Regions from separate parts of the Homo sapiens genome. Here regions 1 and 3 are each linked to region 2. Evidence: promoter capture Hi-C in 16 types of primary human blood cells and fetal thymus (Javierre and others, 2016). All regions are on one chromosome and are shown on one strand. Each heading gives the region's core, a stretch centred on a gene start or on the middle of the fragment in contact. The rest is flanking DNA. Distances are from core to core; before and after follow the strand shown. Region 1 has its middle 57 kb from the start of MIR9902-1. Region 2 holds the start of MPHOSPH9 (M-phase phosphoprotein 9). Region 3 overlaps KNTC1 (kinetochore associated 1).

Region 1 (4,253 bases), core at 898-3,397, 590 kb after region 2:
GGAAAGCTGTTTTTTTTTGTTGTTGTTGTTTCTGTTCTTGTTTTTAAGACTTAGAAAGAAAAAGCAGTTCAGGCCGGGTGCGGAGGCTCTCACCTGTAATCCCAGCATTTTGGGAGGTCGAGGCAGGAGGATCACCTGAGGTCAGGAGTTCAAGACCAGCCTGGCCAACACAGCAAAACCCTGTCCCTACTAAAAATACAAAAATTAGCCGGGCGTGGTGGCAGGTGCCTGTAGTCCCAGCTACTCGGGAGGCTGAGGCTGGAGAATTGCTTGAACCCAGGAGGCGGAGGTTGCAGTGAGCTGAAATCATGCCATTGCACTCCAGTCTGGGTGACAGAGTGAGACTCTTGTCTCAAAAAAAAAAAAAAACAAAAAAAACTTAGCTGGGCATGGTGGTGGGAGCCTGTAGTCCCAGCTAATCGGGAGGCTAAGGTGGGAAAGTCACTTGAATCCAGGAGGCGGAGGTTGCAGCGAGCTGAGATCACACCATTGCACTCTGCCTGAGCAACAGAGCAATACTCCGCCTCAAAAAAAAAAAAAAAAAAAAAAAAAAAAAAAAAAAAAAGAACTCCATGCCATCAGGAGGGACCTTATCATGGTGTTCATCTTGCATCCCCCAACCCCAGAACAGTTCCTGGCACATAGCAGACTCTTAAGTAGTCATGAAATTAATGAATTTCAGCTACGCGTTTTCAGGGTAAAATCTCTTCCTTGGATGCTTCATGAGCACATGAACAAATGGCAGTGCCTCATTATACATAAGAAAAATGGGGAAAGTTAGCAACCGCTAAATACATGAAGACGCTCTATTTAATCCTCAAGACTCAAGGGCCTCCTTCCACCATCTCTTGCTTGGAATGAAGCAGCCAAATTCTTTTTCTCTATTCGGAGTAGAGAATGAATTAGTGGGGTGTTCTCATTCCACTTTGTGGTGATGGAAAACCTGGCTCAGTGAGACAGAAGATATTCAAGCTTCTTTCTGCTGTTTCTCCTTGGGCCCAGAGATTTGGAATACATTATCTGTGCTTAAATAAACACATTGGATCCCTCCCTTGGGTAGTTTTTAAGTTATTTTTGAGTAAGAGAATAAGACTGAATAATTTTGTTGATTGTTTCTATCCAGATGGGGGTAGCCACATAAGTATAAAGACGTGCTTAGGGTAATAGTTTCTTTTTCATGCAATGCTGGTGTCCCAGGAAGAAGAGACCAGTGACCCCAAGGTTTTTTTGCATGCTCCTCAGTGGAAACTTTTGAGCACATACTCCCAATATCTTTCAACATATATTATTTTAGTAGAAATATATATATTTTTTTGAGACAGAGTTTTGCTCTTTCGCCCAGGCTGGAGTGAAGTGGCATGATCTCAGCTCACTGCAACCTGTGACCCCCGGGTTCAAACAATTCTCCTGCCTCAGCCTCCCTAGTAGCTGGGATTATAGGCGTGCGCCAGCACACCCGGCTAGTTTTGGTATTTTTAGTAGAGACAGTGTTTCACCATGTTGGCCAGGCTGGTCTCGAACTCCCGACCTGAGGTGATCCACCCGCCTCGGCCTCCCAAAGTGCTGGGATTACAGGTGTGAGCCACCGCGCCCGGCCAATATTCCAGTGAGCTAGTCAATAAACAAGTAAATAAAGATAACCCTGGATGGCAGCAGGAAGACAGTGAATAGAGTGACGTCACAGCAAGGGACTGGGGATGTGGGATGGTGACTAGCTGGGCTGGTCGGGTAAGGCTAGAGAGAAGGCTGGTCTGAGATATGGCAGGAGTGGCAGGGGTTGAGGCTGGAAAGGCAGACTGGGCCTAGATCTTACCGACCTTATAAGCCACGGTATGGACAGGCAGGCAGCACCGAGCCATAAACGAAATCCAGCTTTTAAATCCAGCGCTTTTAAAAAACTTTGACCTTACCCAAGGGGGTGTCTTTTTATGTTAGATCTGCCCAAAGGAGGGGCTTTTTATAATCCATTTTCCTGGAGATGACCCCTGCTTCTAATTCGAACAGAAGGGAAGTGTTTTCTGCAACTTGGGTTTTATGCTTAGTGAAATGAGAAGCCAGTGAAAAGTTTGAGGCCAGCCACGGACAAGATCCGGCTTATGTTTTAAGAATATACTTAGGCAACAGTATGGAAAATAACTGTATGGAGACAAGGGTAGAATAATAAAAATAATGATGGCAATCACAGCTAATAGAAATATAATAAATAGAACAATGACAAGAAGGAACCTTGCTGTTTTTTCTGTTCTTTTTTCTTTTTTAGAGACAGGGTCTCGCTCTGCCGCCCAGGCTGGAGTGCAGTGGTGCGATCATAGCTCACTATAGCCTCAACCTCCTAGGCTCAAGCAACCCTCCCACCTCAGCCTCCCGAAGCTCTGGGATTATAGACATGAGCCACCACTCCCGGCCCCCATCCTGGCTCCAATCCTGGCTAACTGTATATTTAATCTTACTTTAAAACAAATTCAGGCTGGGCACAGGTGGCTCACACCTGTAATCCCAGCACTTTGGGAGGGCAAGGCAGGTGGATTACTTGAGGTCAGGAGTTCAAGACCAGCCTGGCCAACATGGTGAAACCTTGTCTCTACTAAAAAAAATTACAAAATTAGCTGGGCATGGTGGCCGGCTCCTGTAATCCCAGCTACTCGGGAGGCTGAGGCAGGAGAATCATTTGAACCTAGGAGGGAGAGGTTGCAGTGAGCTGATATCGCGCCACTGTACTCCATCCTGGGCGACAGAGTGAGACTCCGTCTCTAAATAAATAAATATAACAAATTCAAATAACAGTTATGATCCAAAAAAAGTGACTTCTCCAACATGTTGAAAGCTAACCCTTTATGTATCAGAACTTTATTCTGAACAAGAAACCAATGTGGGCATTGGAAACACTCCTTCTTAGCTTAGCTCCAGAGTCAAAGAAGCGTGACAGTCCATCACATCTGTTAAGTTCTAGTGCCACCACCTGACCTCTTCTGGGCCTTGCACGCTTACGCCCAAGAGGACAATTCCAGACTCCATCTGCGACTGCAGCCTTCTAACTGGTTCTCTTAAGGTTCAATCACACAAATAAAGAAACACCAATGTGAACAGTGAGATGCCGTTTTAACCTATCAGATGAGCAACATGGTTTGAGGACATAGTAAAGTGGACGTGCATCCGCTGCTGGTGGGAATGGGGATTTGTGAGGAAGACCTTTTGAAATGCATGCAGTGTGGCAATTTGCAACTGGAGGCTTTAAAATGTTCCCTTCATTCCCTTGGATCTGGCAAATCTGTTCCTGGGAATGTATCTTAAGGGAATAATTCCAAATATGGAAAAAGCTTAGTGAAAATATATTAGCACAGTCTAAGTGTGCAGAATAGCTCCAGGGGGTGACCTAAGAGTTTTGAGGATTTGCTGTGGGCTGAGGATTGCCTACATCTATCATCTCATCTGATCCTCACAGAAACCACTGAAGCGGGTATATTATCCCCATTTTATGGATAAGAAAAGGGACTCAGGGAGATTACAAAATTCAGTCCGACTCATAAACCTATACACAGAAGCAGAATTAGAACCTGAGCTTGCATGGCTTTTCATTAAAAATAAAAAATCATTAAAAATAAAAACACTATTACTAAAAATAATATTTTAAAAAGTTTATAGTGGCAGAGAAAAGAATACAAAGTAAAAAATTGTACCTGCAGTAGGCTCATGATTTTATAAAACCATGTGATGCAGAGAAATAAGAAACAAAATGCAACCTGCCAGAGGAACTGATCACACCCTAAGTGTTTGTGTTTTCCATACATATCTTTTTTTCTTTGGCACAGGGTCTCTGTTGCCCCGGATGGAGTGTGGTGGCATGATCACAGCTCATTAAAGCCTTGACCTCCTGGGCTTAAGCGATCCTCCCACCTCAGCCTCCCAAGTAGCTGGGACTACAGGTGCACAACACCATGCTCGGCTAATTTTTTTTTTTTTTTTTTTGAGACGGAGTCTTGCTCTGTCGCTTCTGTCGCCCAGGCTGGAGTGCAGTGGCGCGATCTCGGCTCACTGCAACCTCTGCTTCTCCTCAGCCTCCCGAGTAGCTGGGACTACAGGCGCCCACCACCATGGCGTGTTAGCCAGGATGGTCTCAATCTCCTGACCTTGTGATCCGCTCGCCTTGGCCTCCCAAAGTGCTGGGATTACAGGCGTGAGCCACCGTGCCTTCGCCACGCCCAGCTAATTTAAAGCTGAGGCAGGAGAATTGCTTGAACCCGGGAGGCAGAGGT
Region 2 (4,285 bases), core at 722-3,221:
GAACTTTGGAATGACACACCACATACACTGTTGTCTTATGACACAAACCCAGTCTGGGAACTGATTATTTCATCGGCCTTTGTTTTAGAGCTTAGGGTGAAAAGGCATCTACAACAGTGGCTTGTAAATTATTTTACTTGGTATGGTCCAATTTAAGAAGTACTTGATAAGCCATGACATTACTGAAAACATGTTATTTGGTGGGATCATAATTCTGGTCTGTGAAATCAGGTACTAAGGAGATCACTGTGATGCCAAAAATATAGCCTGACTTCCCAGCAGGTTCACACTGAAAGATAAAACCATCTTCAATGAAGTAAGTCCTGGTTTAAACATAAAATATCTTTTGGAATTATGTAATATAATTTAAAAAATCATGAAAGATAGGATAACATCAAATTTACCCTTTGAAAATTGCCAGGCGTGGTGGCTCATGCCTGTAATCCCAGCACTTTGGGTGGCCGAGGCAGGAGGATGACCTGAGGTCAGGAATTCGAGACCAGCCTGGCCAATATGGCAAAACCCCGTCTCTACTAAAAATACAAAAAATTAGCCGGATGTGGTGGCGGGCACCGGTATTCCCGGCTACTCGGGAGGCTGAAGCAGAAGAATCACTTGAACCCGGGAGGCAGAGGTTAAAGTGAGCCGAGATCGCGCCACTGCCCTCCAGCCTGGGTGACAGAGAGAGACCTTGTCCCCCCTACCCCCCTCCCCCACAAAAATAAAAAAAGTAAAAAAAAATTGGTAGGTATACTTAGGAAGCTCCAATGAGATGTAACGCCTCCTGGCAGATCTGTTATTCCAAGGGCAGATCCATTTCCTGGGTTGTGGAGGCCTAAGTGATAGTGCCAGGGAAGTCCCTTTACTGTGAGCCAGAACTCCTGGAGGTAAATCGAGTAGCTGGAAAGACCTTAAAGGTTAACTATGCTGAAGAATGTGGCCTGCACAGTGCGCATGAAATGGGCTGGGGTCCCACGGGGAGGAGAGCGAGTTCCCTTTGGTCCTTCAAAAGTAGGGCTGGGTGGCTTGCGCCTGTGATCCCAGCACTTTGGGAGGCCGAGGAAGGAGGATCGCTTGAGGCCAGGAGTTCGAGATCAGCTTGGGCAACACAGTGAGACCCCCCCACCCCACGTCTATTAAAAAAAAAACGAGTATCTCCGCAAAAGCCTAGCAAGGGCAGTGCTGACCTCTACTACGTGCCAGGCCTGAAACAGCACCTGATGCGTGCTCACAGCTCCATTCCGCTCAGTTTTGTACATGAGGATCCTTCCGTTTCGCCTTGGGCCTCCGTGGAACCGTTATCTCCAGGACGGTAGTCTCTCCTCTCCCCTGCCCTGAGTGCCTGAACAGCCCCAGGGCCGACCCACAGCACCTAGCGTAAACCAGGTCCCGAGAAAACTGAGCTCGGGTGTCACGGCCGGCCCCACCCCACCGCCAGCGCGGCCTCAGGTAAACTGGCTGCGCCACTCGGGGTCGCAAGTCGGGAAAAACCCAGGCGTCCCGGCTCGCAGTCCTCTCTCCGGAGCCTTTGACAGTCGTCGGCAGCCGTAGGGTTACCTGGCTTCTCCGCAGATGCTTACCTGGTCTCAGGACCCGACTCGTGCCCTCAACGTTCTAGGGATATCCAAATCACCTCAGCGGAGGATTCGCAATCGCGATCCCTGATCTGCGCACGCGCCGTACTCCGATCGCGGTTTCTCTTATCTACCAGAGGCTCATGTTTACTCACTGCGCATGCGAGAAACTGAAGCTTCTTTCCCTCGTGGCAGCGGCTGGCTCCCAGAGAGCCAATCAGAGAAGAGAGTTTCACAGCAATCCCGCCCCCTTGTCACTCCCCCGGGGTTGGATGTCTCTCTTTGGTTGGAGCTGCGCGAGGGGGAACGGCGAGGTGGACGCGCGCGCCATGCGAGGCTGTCTCCGCCTCCTTCCGGGCAGCCAATCACTGGAGAGACGCCGGGCGCGCGCGCGCTCCCTCGGGTAACGGTCGCGAGAGGCCGCTTGCATGACCCTGACATCGGCAGCGGGAGCGGCGGCCAGGTAAGCGGCCACCAGCCTGCAGGGAGCTGTAGGCCGCTGGGGACAGGAGACGAGACTTAGGAGACACTGTCTTAGCGGCCCCTTGAGTGTGGTGATGGGCTGGGGTGTGGGGTGACGGCTGCCGATTGGCCTGACCCCCTCGGAGCCCTTCGGCGTGTGGGAGCTCTGCCCGGCCGCGGTGCGCCTTTTCTAGACTCGGCGCCCTTGAGTGACACTCGCGCGGCCCAATCGCAGATCGCTCTTCCTGAGGGGCGGGGGGTTTGTGGGGTTTTTTTAATTTTTCCCCCCATTTTTTGCCAAGGTGCCCCGGTTTCCTTTTGGAATCGCGGTTGTAGTTGCAGGAGCGGTGGCTTTTCTCCGTCCTCCCTGCTTTCCGTAGCTTAGGCGACTGCATAGATTCTCCCTCTCCTTCCCACTTTGACCCGATAGCCGCCACCAGCCATTGCGGGCTGACTGTGAGCTCAGAATGTCGGGATCTGGCCTCATCCCCATCTGAAATCTCTTCCTCTCCCCCAAGCCTCCCGTCAAGGCGGAGCGCCCAGTTAACTTTCATGTTTCATAACCATCAATCGTTCCTTTTCCCCAGCTCCCTTTTTTTGCTAGGGGGTAGGGACACCAAAAGCGTCATATCTTGTTGCTGGGAAATATAAAAGCTCTGCTCTTATATTCATTCTGTATCAAGTTAAAAAAATTTTTTTTTGCATTGTATTTGTGGGTGTTTAAGGATTTTTCCCTCTTACTTCCCTGCCCTCCCCCCAGCACCTCCACCCCAAATGGAGAAGCATCTTTGAATTTCTAGTGGTTTTCCATCTGGATCTGCATCCGGATCCGGATTACCTTAGCAGGGGAAATAATAGATGGGGTTGCAGGTTCATCTCCCTGGAGAGCTTGTGTTTTCCTGGTGTAATAGCATGGTGATTGGAATCCAGGTATTTCTGTTGCCAGTTGGAAGGGGCAGTCCTTGACTGTTTCAATGCCCCATTTGTCGTGGGTGATGGGCTGAGCCACTGGGGAAAAGTCCATTTAGTTAGGTCCGGTTACCCTTTGCATTCACTCCTGTCCCTGAAGGAAATGGTCCCTGTTTTTGTGTAATGCTTTATAAAAGCAGGCCCTAGAAAGTGGGAATCTAGCAGAAGCGGAATACTAGATAATATTCCTGTTGCACTCTCTAAGCTTTTCAGTTTGTAAGCAGCTGAAGTTTTCTTTCTTTCTCCTTTTTCCTCTTGCTCCCTTGCTCTTTTATAAGTGCATGAATTCCCCAGGAAGGAGGCATCTTGTTTGACCTGTTACAGCCAATTTGCCATGGTATATATCCAGCTTCACTGAAATTTTAGTTGGCCTGGCAAATAATTTTTTTATTTTTATTTTTATTTTTTAAGAGATGGGGTCTTGGTCTGTTGCCCAAGCTGGAGTGCAGTGGCAGGATCATAGCTCACTGCAGTCTTGAACTCCTGGGCTGAAGTGATCCTCCCACCTCAGCCTCCAGAGTAGCTGGGACATGCTCCCAGTAGCTGCAGGCAGGCTCCAGTGTGCCCAGTGGTTTATTTTCTAAGAATAGCTGCACAGAGACAAAAGACCATATATATAGTTCAAAATGTACTTCCAGACAATGGGGAAGCTATGGTTGTTAACAGTTTAATTGGCTCTTTTTAATACAAATTAAATATTAAGTAGTTCAGTTCTTCTTGTCTCTGTATAAGTCAACAAACATATATACTTGGTAGAATTTATTAAACAAATGAACAAGGCATGCAAGTATTCCAATTGTTACATAATAGAATTATATCTAGAACTTTCATTGTAAAGCCTGGCAAAATGGTTTGCGCTATAATCCCAGCTGCTCGGGAGGCTGAGCACTTGAGGCCAGGAGTTGTAGACCAGCCTGGGCAACATAGCAAGATGCTGTCTCTAAAAAAAAGAACCTTGATTATTAAACATATAAAAATCTGAAATATTACCTGAAAAAGGTGATGCTACTTTTGCAAATAATCCTTAATGTAGATTTTTAATTGAGATACATAATTCACATACCATAAAATTCAGTCTTTTACAAGTGTACAATTCAGTGGTTTTTAGTTCACAAGGTTGTGCAGCCATCACCACTATCTAATTCCAGAATTTTTTATCACCCCAAAAAGAAACTCCATACCAGCTGCACTCACTCACATTCTCTCCTTCCCCAGCTCCTGGCAGCCATTTGTCTATGAATTTGCCCATTCAAGATATTTCATATCAATGAAATCATATA
Region 3 (4,613 bases), core at 1,849-4,348, 700 kb after region 2:
GCTGGAACTATAGGCGCACACCAGCACGGCCAGCTAATTTTTGTATATTAGTAGAGAAAACGGGATTTCACCATGTTGCCCAGGCTGGTCTCAAACCCCTGAGCTCAGGCAATCCACCCACCTGGGCCTTCCAAAGTACAAGGATTACAGGTGTGATTTTTGTATTTTTAGTAGAAATGGGGTTTCACCATGTTGGCCAGGCTGGTCTTGAACTCCTGACCGCAAGTGATCTGGTGGCCTCAGCCTCCCAAAGTGCTGGGATTGCAGGCATGAGCCACCACGCCCAGCTTTAATTCACTCTCAAATCCACATTTGCATGTACTTGAAGCCTTGTAGCTCGATGAAGAATTAATTCATAAGTATGTTAAAGGATTTTTAGAGAGCTATTAATTCTAAAAATATGCAAATACCCATTAATGATACCGAAATTCTGTACAAGATTCAGGAATTTGAACACAAATGAGCTCATGTTTTCCATAGTATTCTAATACAAGCAAGTAAACTAAGTTGTTGCTTTACATGTGTATTTCCCCTCAGATGTATTGAGAGAAGGGATCATCTCAGTGTCCTTTGACTCTAGTGCCCAACGCAAATAAGGCACTAAGCACTCAAGCTTAATTACTTGAAATTGGTCTAATTTGAAATCTTAGAAATAATGGAGTAAAGAGGAGGCAATCCAGCAGAAATTGGCAGCAGATGTATTTGACTTCCAATTTATCTTACTTCATTCACTACATTATACTTACCAAAGACAAGATGCAATTGAAGTGATCTACAAATACTGTCAAGCAATATCACTGATTGGTCGGCTACAATAATAAACCCATCACTTAAGCTGCATGCCTGTATCTTTGGATTTAATGAGGCCTGTGGGAGAGAAAAGCATGATGAAAATTCAAACATTTTTATATGTGTTTAATAATACTTATCAATAGTATCATCAAATTCCCAAATATCCCACTTTAAAACTTGACAGGCTTTTTTTCTTTAGCCCCTCTATCTAATTAATCATCGAGTTTTTCTTTGTATGGTATATCTTGAATCCATCCAGGATCCTAAGTAGAAAAACAGTTCAGGATGAGCAGGAAGGGCAAAGGATTCTCATGTTCAAGTCCTTGTTTCCTCAGGATTGACTTTATGCTGCAGGAGCCAGGTATTAACATAATGAATTAATCAAGATTGGAATAAAGTCTTGGTGTCGTGGATACGCTAGGCAGGGGAACGGTGGTGAACTGTGAACTGGAGGGTCCATGCCCCCACAGACATGAAAGAATAGAGTCTACTTCACACCAGCCAGTGGGAAGCCTGGTGGGGATGCAGCACTGGCATGGCCATACCTCCCAATTCATCAACAGAAGCTGGATCTTTATGTGAAATGTTCTGATTTTTAAATATTGGCAGCTAAGCCAACATTTTTAAAAACAGTAGACAAGCCAAATCAGAGTCTCCAGTATTCAGTTTCTGTTGCCAAGAGCCTCCCACACATAGCTGTCTTGAAGCACTGGGACAGATTAGTGGTTGAGGAAGCTCAGTCCCTTACTAGCTAAGTGATCTTAGGCAAATGCATCAACTAACTCCATGTAAAAGAGTAACAATAATAATACCTACAAGGTTCACCTGAATAAAGATTAAACGAATTCACGTAAAGGGCTTATGAGAGAGCCCTGCACATAGTATATGCTCAATAAATGTTAACCAGTCCTATTCTTCCCTGACAAAATACAGCTAATCACCTCATTTTATGACTATTTCAAAAGTCATCTTCTCCAGGTGTAATCCTTGAAAATTCCCCAACATTCTGATCCCTCTTCTACCTTATTTTTTTCTTTATTTTGAGACAGGGTCTCCCTCTGTCGCTCAGGTTGGAATGCAGTGATGCCATCATAACTCACTGCAGCCTTAAACACCTGGGCTCAAGGGATCTTCGTGCCTCCCCAACCCAAGTAGCTGGGACTACACATGCACACCATCACACCTGGCTAATTTTCTTTTTCTTTTATAGAGACGGGGTTTTCACTGTGTTGGCCAGGCTGGTCTAGAACTCCTGGACTCAAACGATCCTTCCATCCCAACCACCCAAAGTGCCGGGAATACAAATGTGAGGCACTGCGCCCAGCCTCCTTCTTATCTTTTTACTTGCTTCTTCAACTAGTAAAAGGTTACATGAAGGCACTGCCAACAAGGAATGGCACTAAAATTAGCCGGGCGTGGTGGCGGACGCATGTAATCCCAGCTACTGGGGAGGCTGAGGCACGAGAATCACTTGAACCCGAGAGGCAGAGGTTGCAGTGAGCCAAGATCACACCACTGCACTCCAGCCTGGGCAACAGAGCAAGACTCTGCCTCAAAAAAAAAAAAAAGAAAAGGAACGGCACTATATCTTCTAGGGATCTGTCCACACTGTTCTCTCTAGACTCTTCTCTCTAGACTGTTCTCCTTCTTAAGGCCCAAAGCAAGTGTAGTTTATTTTAATTTTTATTTTTTTTAGAGATGTTGTCTCCCTATGTTGCCCAGGCTGGCCTCAAACTCCTGGGCTCACGCCATTCTCCTGCCTCAGCCTGAGTAGCTGGGACTACAGGACATGCCACCACACCGGGCTCACACATAGTTTCTTAAGGAAATGCTCCTTAAACTGCCCAACCGACAATGAGCTCTCCAGCCACTGAATTCCTACTCATTTACTGTCTGTACTGTTCATTTGGCATTTAGCATATACTGACTTGCACAGCTAAGCATCTTTTATTGTTTGTGTCCTGTGTGCCTAACTTTAAGGTAAGATCCTAAAAGGAATGAATAAGATGCCATCTTATGTCCAAGTTCCTAATATTGGGCTCAGAACATAGCAGATGTTCAAAACATGTTGGTAAGTGTATGCCACGTGCTAATAATAGATAGAATTTTAGTTCCTACCAGAATCCAAGATTCTATACACATGCACTATTATTTTTCAACAGCAACCTTGAGGTCAAGAAAGGCCTGAGCCACTTCCACGTTTTAAGGCTCCTGATAATATTAAAAAATAAAGCCCGGGCACAGTGATTCACACCTGTAATCCCAGAACTTTGGGAGGCCGAGGTGGGTGGATCACAAGGTCAAGAGATCGAGACCATCCTGCTCAACATGGTGAAGCCTCATCTCTACTAAAAACACAAAAATTAGCTGGGTGTGGTGGCTCGTGTCTGTATTCCCAGTTACTCGGGAGGGTGAGGCAGAAGAATCGCTTGAACCCAGGAGGCGGAGGTTGCAATGAGCCAAGATCACGCCACTGCACTCCAGCCTGGTGACAGAGCAAGAGTTCGTCTCAAAAAAAAAAAAAAAAAAAAAGAAAAATTAGCCAGGCGTGGTGGCAGGCGCCTATAATCCCAGCTACTCCAGAGGCTGAGGCAGGAGAATCACTTGAATCCAGGAGTGGGAGGTTGTAATGAGTCAATATCACATCACTGTACTCCAGCCTGGGCTACAGAGTGAGAGTCTCTCTTAAAAAAAAAAAAAACAAATGGCCGGGTGCGGTGGCTCAAGCCTGTAATCCCAGCACTTTGGGAGGCCGAGCCGGGCGGATCACGAGGTCAGGAGATCGAGACCATCCTGGCTAACATGGTGAAACCCCGTCTCTACTAAAAATACAAAAAATTAGCTGGGCATAGTGGCGGGCGCCTGTAGTCCCAGCTACTTGAGAGGCTGAGGCAGGAGAATGGCGTGAACCTGGGAGGCAGAGCTTGCAGTGAGCTGAGATCATGCCACTGTACTCCAGCCTGGGCGACAGAGCAAGACTCCATCTCAAACAAACGAACAAAAATACTAAAAAATAGACGTCATTTCCTCATTATAGAAACTGTGCTTTCAGATGTCTCGAAGGATTCAAAAAATTTAAAAAAAAGAAATGCTGCACTTGAAATTTTTGCCTCTAATAAATAATGACAAAAAATACAATGAGATTTGTACTACTCATAATTAATGTTTATCTTATACTAATTATCTTATTGTTGGATTATACTGCCTTTAACATGATTCATGGTACATTTAAAGCGGTACAAATCAGGCACAGTGACTCATGCCTTTAATCCCAGCACTTTGGGAGGCCAAGGCAGGCGGATCACTTGAGGCCAGGAGTTCAAGACCAGCCTGGGCAACCCCATCTCTACTAAAAATACGAAAATTTTTAGTAGCATGGTGGCACACACCTGTAATCCCAGCTACTTGGGAAATTGAGACAGGAGAATTTTTTGAACCCAGGAGGCAGAGGTTGCAGTGAGCCGAGCCGAGATAGCACCACAGCAAGAAAAAGCAGCACAGTTCCACAGACACCAGCTTAAAGCTGCATAAAGAATGATTTCTTTTTAAAATCCCATCAGCCAGTTTAAAAAAAAAAGTCAAAAGCATACATTTAATTCCCTTTAGGAATAACGTCCACAGTGGATGCCCTGCCTTATCTGTCAGATTCCATTTGAGTGAAAAAAAATTTCTTTTATTAAAAAAAAAAAAGAATTAAATACCAGCCTCCCAAGTAGCTGGGACTACATGTGCATGCCACCACACCCAGCTAATAGTACCTTCTATAGAATGCAAAGAATAAGGTTTCAGGCATGAAGCAAGAATGGTGCAATTACTGACAG

What was found. Contacts are between HindIII fragments. The CHiCAGO score rates a contact against its expected background, and 5 or more counts as called.
Region 1: a contact is called between a fragment that was not itself captured here and the fragment with the promoter of MPHOSPH9 in region 2, in 1 of 17 cell types (M2 macrophages). The highest score is 5.0, in M2 macrophages.
Region 3: a contact is called between a fragment that was not itself captured here and the fragment with the promoter of MPHOSPH9 in region 2, in 2 of 17 cell types (megakaryocytes and erythroblasts). The highest score is 5.2, in megakaryocytes.

Annotation. Positions count from the first base shown.
Region 1 is chr12:122,636,705-122,640,957 of GRCh38, reverse strand. No RefSeq gene overlaps it. Among named protein-coding and RNA genes, the nearest start is that of MIR9902-1, 57 kb to the left of the region's middle. RefSeq lists an enhancer at 1,981-2,881 and a silencer at 2,949-3,018. The HindIII fragment of the contact is 2,345 bases long and covers 975-3,319 here.
Region 2 is chr12:123,230,827-123,235,111 of GRCh38, reverse strand. MPHOSPH9 (M-phase phosphoprotein 9) reads left to right here and starts at 1,971. Exons shown (of 24, transcript NM_022782.4): 1 at 1,971-2,037. It overlaps MTRFR (mitochondrial translation release factor in rescue), which reads right to left and starts at 1,676. Exons shown (of 3, transcript NM_152269.5): 1 at 1,581-1,676. RefSeq lists an enhancer at 1,959-2,198. The HindIII fragment of the contact is 1,460 bases long and covers 1,753-3,212 here.
Region 3 is chr12:122,530,918-122,535,530 of GRCh38, reverse strand. It overlaps KNTC1 (kinetochore associated 1), which reads right to left. Exons shown (of 64, transcript NM_014708.6): 3 at 747-867. Among named protein-coding and RNA genes, the nearest start is that of KNTC1, 6.0 kb to the right of the region's middle. The HindIII fragment of the contact is 4,966 bases long and covers 616-4,613 here.